Regions from separate parts of the Homo sapiens genome. Here region 1 is linked to region 2. Evidence: promoter capture Hi-C in human tissues and cell types (Jung and others, 2019). All regions are on one chromosome and are shown on one strand. Each heading gives the region's core, a stretch centred on a gene start or on the middle of the fragment in contact. The rest is flanking DNA. Distances are from core to core; before and after follow the strand shown. Region 1 holds the start of SRMS (src-related kinase lacking C-terminal regulatory tyrosine and N-terminal myristylation sites). Region 2 overlaps ZGPAT (zinc finger CCCH-type and G-patch domain containing).

The links. The method cuts DNA at HindIII sites, captures the fragments that hold promoters and counts their contacts. A contact is called where the count stands out against the background at its distance.
Region 1: the fragment with the promoter of SRMS here is called in contact with a fragment that was not itself captured in region 2 in 1 of the 25 tissues and cell types used here (lymphoblastoid cells).

The regions. Positions count from the first base shown.
Region 1 is chr20:63,546,334-63,549,799 of GRCh38, forward strand. SRMS (src-related kinase lacking C-terminal regulatory tyrosine and N-terminal myristylation sites) reads right to left here and starts at 1,416. Exons shown (of 8, transcript NM_080823.4): 1 at 775-1,416. The coding sequence starts at 1,130. RefSeq lists an enhancer at 489-1,130. The HindIII fragment of the contact is 18,378 bases long and covers 985-3,466 here.
Region 2 is chr20:63,722,043-63,725,387 of GRCh38, forward strand. All of the region lies in intron 2 of ZGPAT (zinc finger CCCH-type and G-patch domain containing), which reads left to right. Among named protein-coding and RNA genes, the nearest start is that of LIME1, 13 kb to the right of the region's middle. The HindIII fragment of the contact is 9,604 bases long and covers 1-3,345 here.

The sequences.
Region 1 (3,466 bases), core at 166-2,665, 180 kb before region 2:
GGAGGCTGGAAGTGGCCCTGAGCAAGGCTGACCCCGAAGGTCTCCAGGGCTCAGGCCTTGCCCAGCTGGATGCCAGACCAAGGCAGCCGCTCAGAGCAGCCGCACTGGGCATCTGGACTAGGCGCCTCTGCAACCCCTGCTCACCTGCCCTCACCCAGAGCTCCTGGAGCGTGGGCCCCTGTCTCAGCCCCCAGTCCCAGCCCCTGCTCACCTGCCTTCACCCAGAGCTCCTGGAGCGTGGGCCCGTCTCAGCCCCCAGCCCCTGCTCACCTGCCCTCACCCAGAGTTCCTGGAGCATGGGCCCCTGTCTCAGCCCCCAGCCCCCAGCCCCTGCTCACCTGCCGTCACCCAGAGCTCCTGGAGCTCCTGTCATCTGGTGCCTCCCAGCCCCCAGCCCCTGCCCTCCAAGCAGTGACCGATCCATGAACACTGGACTCCCTGTGTGAGGGCGGGAGGGCCTGGCCAGCCAGGCAGGGTCCTGGAGGAACCGCCTGCTGGGTGTCCAGCTGGTGCAGCTGATGCTCCCCCCCACAGGACCTGACCACGCCTGCCGGAGCCTCCTCTCCCTCTCGGCAGCCCACAGCGGACACTGCTGTTTTCCTACCACACCTGCCGGCCCGGGGCCCATCAGCTGTCCCTGAATGAATGCGTGGATGAACGAATGAATGAACAGATAGCCACGGACATGCGATTTCCAACTCAAAATCCTGCCGTTGTTCTGGACTCCCCAGCTGGGGGCGAGGCAGGCTCTGACTCCGAGGCCGAGGTACTCACGGTTGGTCTGAGAGCGTCTCAGGAGAAGCCTTGGCCACGTGGGTGATGGGCACGAGCCCGGCGCTGGGCTGGCCCGAAAGCCTGCGTGCGAAGATGTAGCCGCCCCCCTCTTCGAGGGCACAGAGCCTGTCCCCGCGGCGGACACTCAGCTCCCCGCCACACCGCGCCGTGAAGTCATAGAGCGCAAGGAAGAGCTGAGGGAAGGGGCTGCAAGGCTCGGCGGGGAGCGTGGGCACTGGGTCAGTGTTGGGGTCCAGGGACCCGGGGGTGCCATGGTCCGGCTCGCCGCCCGCCGGCCAGATCTTGTCCCAGAAGAAGGACAGGAAGGCCAGCCGCCTCCTGAGGAACGGCTCCATCCCCCGGGGTCACCACGCTGGGCCCGAGGGCCATGGGAGCCCGCGAGCCCGGAAGAGGAACTGGCAGGGCCGGTGGGACCCGGTGTCCAGCGCTCCCTGCCCTGGCCGTGGGGTGACAGGGGACCCCGGCCCTGCGGTCACTCAGAGGTCCCCTGGATCCAGGAGGCACACGGTTCCCACCGGCGTCCGGGCTGGCGTTGGGGCTGGGTGGGGCGCAGGGCGGACCCCCTGCCTCAGGCACACCGACAGCACCTCCTGTCCTCGACCTCCTTGGCGTCTGGAGTGCACCGTCCCCTCCCCAACCCGACGGCAGAGGGCAGCTTGGGCTGGGGCGGGGGCGGGCTCCAGGAGGGGCCCGAGGAGGGCGGGGTGGGCAGGGCCAGCCTCTCTCCCGCCCTCTGCAAGGCCCAGGCAGGCGGAATGGCTCTGCCCAGTCAGGCCTGGCCCATGCCCAAGGGCACCACAGTCCAACAGCCGCCCGTGCCCACGGAGAAGTGGGGGTTCCACGGAGAAGCGCTGCTGTTCAGCACCTGCAGTGGTTGCCAAGCCTGAGCTGCACTCAGGTGAAAAATTGCCTGCTTATTTAAGTGTTGGCCAGATATTTTAACATCATTAACCCTGCACCAGGTGCCGAGCCTCCGGCCTCTGCAGTAAATTCTGAGGACAGGCGAGTGAGGGGGCTCTCAGCACCCCGGCTTTCATGCAGTAAAACGAGATGCTGATTGCAGGGAGCTCGGCCGCAGGCCAGGCACCCAGATGCCCCATGCTGCCCGATGACCGGCTTCTGAGTCAGTCAATGCCCAGGCCATACCCAAAGGCCACTGCGGGGAAGTGGAGGCTGCGGACGCCTGGCCCCAGTTCAGGGGGATGAGCACACGGAGAAGGGGCGGCGGGTGAGTCCCTGGCTGGGGACCTCCCACCCTCTCCCTGGACAGCGCCAAGCCCCCGCATGCTGAAGCAAACTCTGCCCGCTCAGGTAGGTCCCCAGATCGGGGCAGGACTGGGGGAGCAAATCCCAGCAAAACCCAGCAGCACGGTACAGGGTCCTGAGGCAGGAGGATGGGGTGGTGGCCATCTGCAGTCTCTCTCTCCTCCCACATCCCCTCCGGGTCCTGAGTGGGGTGGGGTGGGGGCCATCTGCAGTCTCTCACTCCTCCCACCTCCCCTCTGGGTCCTGAGGCACGGGGGTGGGGTGAGGCCATCTGCAGTCTCTCACTCCTCCTGCCGGCCTCCCCCAGCAGCCCCTTCCGCACCTGGGTGGCCTTCAGGGAGCCTCACGCCCCTTTCCCACATCTCACACGCATCCATGCCCCCACTTCATGCGTGTGGCTGAATGCATCCCTCCAATAGGCGTGACCAGTGTCCAGCCAATGACAAGCCCCTCGCACCTGCCTGCCCTGGAGTCACAGATGGGCTTCTCAGAAACCTCACGTCTGGGGACTGGTGTGTGCATTGTGGGGTGGCAGTGACACCCGTGGCCTGGCTCTCAGGGCACCCCAGCAGCCAAGCTGTGTCCGGGCTGATAGCCTGGAGCCAGCAGGGGCCCTGGGAGACTGGACATCGCCAGGCTCAGGGCAGGCTCTGCACCAGAGAGGTGCCCTGCTGGGGGTGGTGGGGGGTGTTGAGAAATGTGGAGAATTGTAAATACTACATTGGGGGTGGCCTTCGAGGGGCCCCAGCGCCTTCTCCTCCCGCGCTTCCCCCCGCCGCCCTCTCCTCCCGCCCCCGCCGCCCTCTCCTCCCCCCACCCGCTGCCCGTCTCCTCCCGCCCCCGACGCCGTCTCCTCCCCACAACCCACCCCCGCCGTCTCCTCCCCTCCACTCCCCCCGCCGCCGTCTCCTCCCCACACCCACCGCCGTCTCCTCACGTGCAGGTGAGGCTTTTGCCCACCATTTCTTTTCTTTACTTTTTTTTTGGAAACAGGGTCTCACTCTGTCGCCCAGGCTGGAGTGCAGTGGCAGCCTCGATCTCCTGGGCTCAAGCCGTCCTCCTGCCGGACTACAGGTGTGCGCCACCATGCCCAGATAAATTTTTTATTATTTGTAGAGATGGGCTCTCACTATGTTGCCCAGGCCGGTTTTGAACTCTTGGCCTCAAGCGATCCTCCTGCCTCCCAAAGTGCTGGGACTACAGGTGTGGCTACCAGCTCTCCCAAATCCTCCCTAGGACGTGACTCTTCCCCGCTAGAACGCCAAGGCCGCAGAGCCCCAGGGAGGCCTCCTCAGGCCATGGAAAGCTCCTGTGCCCACCACACCAGGGTCAGATGTTCAGGGCACTGAATGCAGATTCCTCCCAGACACTCCCTGCCCCTTAGAGCCACGGGATCATGGCACAG
Region 2 (3,345 bases), core at 155-2,654:
ACAGCACGACCCTGGAGGCTGCCCCAGCCCTGAGAGAGTTCGAGGGGGTGAAACAAAGGCAAGCCCTTCAGGGAGACACTAGAAAGATCCAAATGCATAAGCAGGATTCCTTGAGAAAAGGTCTGTATCATCCCTTCTGACACCAGCAAGCCACATCAGAAATACAGGTTGCCTTCCCCATGGCTACATGTGAGCTGGTAGTAGTGGCTGAGCAGAAATAGCCCAGCTGTCCTCCTGAAATTTAGCAGGGTCTTACTTCATTGAGCAGTCATCTGGTTCGTAGACACCAGAGTTACAGAAAAGTTTATTGGGAGGTTTTGACAGTTTAATAGAAAAAAGTTTATTGTGACAGTTTTGACAGCTGAATAGAAAAAAGTTTATTGTGACAGTTTTGACAGCAGAATAGTTGCTTTGCTGGAGAGACGGATCTTTGGAGCTGCCAACTCCATCATTTTGGTGATATCCAGCTCTGTTGCTGAATTTTTAGCTATGCTGTTTTAAGTTATTTTCTTAGTGGTTGCTCTAGAGATGACAATGTACATCTTTAACTTACCACAATGTACTTCAGATTATTACTAACTTAACACTTAAAGTACAGCATTTTTTTTTTTATGGAGTTTCACTCTGTCACCCAGGCTGGAGTGCAATGGTGTGATCTCGGCTCACTGCAACCTCCGCCTCCCAGGTTCACGCCATTCTCCTGCCTCAGCCTCCTGAGTAGCTGGGACTACAGGCACCCCCACCACACCCGGCTAATTTTGTATTTTTAGTAGAGATGAGGTTTCACCATGTTGGTCAGGCTGGTCTCGAACTGCTGACCTCAGGTGATCCGCCCATCTTGGCCTCCCAAAGTGCTGGGATTACAGGTGTGAGCGACTGCACTGAGCCTAAGTATGGCAACGTGTCTATAACATAGATCTACTTCCGTTGTACTATGACATAGTTCCCCCTCCATTTTCCTATAGCACAGTCCCAACCTCCCTTTTCCTCTGACATAGTTCCATCCTCCCTCCTCCTATGACGTCCTCCCTTCTCCTCTGGCATAGCTCCATCCTCCCTTCTCCTATGACACAGCTCCATCCTCCCTTCTCCTCTGACATAGCTCCATCCTCCCTTCTCCTATGACACAGCTCCATCCTCCCTTCTCCTCTGACATAGCTCCATCCTCCCTTCTCCTGTGTCATAGCTCCATCCTCCCTTCTCCTCTGACACAGCTCCATCCTCCCTTCTCCTCTGGCATAGCTCCATCCTCCCTTCTCCTATGACACAGCTCCATCCTCCCTTCTCCTATGACACAGCTCCATCCTCCCTTCTCCTATGACACAGCTCCATCCTCCCTTCTCCTATGACACAGCTCCATCCTCCCTTCTCCTATGACACAGCTCCATCCTCCCTTCTCCTCTGGCATAGCTCCATCCTCCCTTCTCCTCTGACATAGCTCCATCCTCCCTTCTCCTCTGACATAGCTCCATCCTCCCTTCTCCTCTGACATAGCTCCATCCTCCCTTCTCCTCTGACATAGCTCCATCCTCCCTTCTCCTCTGACATAGCTCCATCCTCCCTTCTCCTCTGACATAGTTCCATCCTCCCTTGTCCTCTGACATAGCTCCATCCTCCCTTCTCCTCTGACATAGCTCCATCCCCTCTTCTCCTTCATGTATTATTGCCATATATACATTTATGTATGTTATAACTTCAGCTCTTCAGCGTTATAATTATTGCTTCAAAAGTATTTTGAAAGAAGTTGCCTGGAGGCAGTGGCTTATGCCTTTAACTCCAGCACTTTTGGGGGCTGAGGTGGGCAGATCGCCTGAGCCAGGGAGTTGGAGACCAGCCTGGGCAACATGACGAAACCCATCTCCACCAAAATTACAAAAAATTAGTCTGGCATGGTGGCACGCGCCTGTAGTCCCAGCTATTTGGGGGAGGATCCCAGCTAAGGTGGGAGGATCACTTGAGCCTGGGAAGTCAAGGCTGCAGTGAGCTGAGATTGTGCCACTGCACTCCAGCCTGGGTGCAGATCTTATCTCAGAAGTAAAGGGACTAGGAATGGTGGCTTTTATCTCTAATCCCAGCACTTTGGGAGGCTGAGGTGAGTGGATCACCGGAGGTCAGGAGTTTAAGACCAGCCTGGCCAACATGGTGAAACCCCGTCTCTACTAAAAATACAAAAAGTAGCCGGGTGTGGTGGTGGGTGTCTGTAATCCCAGCTACTCGGGAGGCTGAGGCAAGAGAATCGCTTGAACCTGGGAAGCGGAGGTTGCAGTGAGCAAGATCGCACCACTGCATTACAGCCTAGATGACAGAGCGAGACTCTGCCTAAAAAAAAAAAAAAAAAGAAAAGAAAAGAAATTAAGATCTGGACACTGTGGTTCATGCCTGTAATCCCAAAGCCTTGGGAGGCCAAGGCAGGAGGATCACTTGAGGCCAGGAGTTCAACACCAGCCTGGGCAACATAGCGAGACTCCATCTCTATTTAAAAAAGAAAGAAATTCAAAGAGAAAAAAAGTATACTTGTTTTTTTGTATCATCCATATTTTACCTTTCTTTTTTTTGCCCCTTTTTCTTTCCTGTGAATTTGAGTTACTGTCTAGTGTCATTTCCTTTTAGTCTGAAGAACTTCATTTAGAATTTTTTTTTTTTTTTTTTGAGACAAAGTCTCACTGTGTTGCCCAGGCTGGAGTGCAATGGTGCAGTCTCAGATCACTGCAACCTCTGCCTCCCTGGTTAGAGTGATTTTCCTGCCTCAGCCTCCCAAGTAGCTGAGACTGCAGGCACCTGCCACCACCCCCAGCCAATTTTTTTGGTATTTTTAGTAGAGACAGGGTTTCACTATGTTGGCCAGGCTGGTCTCGAATTCATGACCTCATGATCTGCCTGTCCTGGCCTCCCAAAATGCTGGGATTACCATGAGCCACCACGCCCAGCCCATTTAGAATTTCTTTTTTTTTTTTTTTTTGAGATGGGGTCTCGCTCTTGTTTCCCAGGCTGGAGTGCAGTGGCACGATCTCGGCTCACTGCGAGCTCCGCCTCCCGGGTTCACGCCATTCTCCTGCCTCAGCCTCCCGAGTAGCTGGGATTACAGGCGCCTGCCACCACGCCCACCTAATTTTTTGTATTTTTAGGAGAGATGGGGTTTCACCGTGTTAGCCAGGATGGTCTTGATCTCCTGACCTCGTGATCCGCCCGCCTTGGCCTCCCAAAGTGCTGGGATTACAGGCGTGAGCCACCGCGCCCGGCTAGAATTTCTTGTAGGACAGGCTTGCTAGCAACCAATTCAGTGTTTATTTGGGAATGTCTTTATTTCAGCTTCATTTTTTGAAGGATAGTTTAGCTGGCTATAGA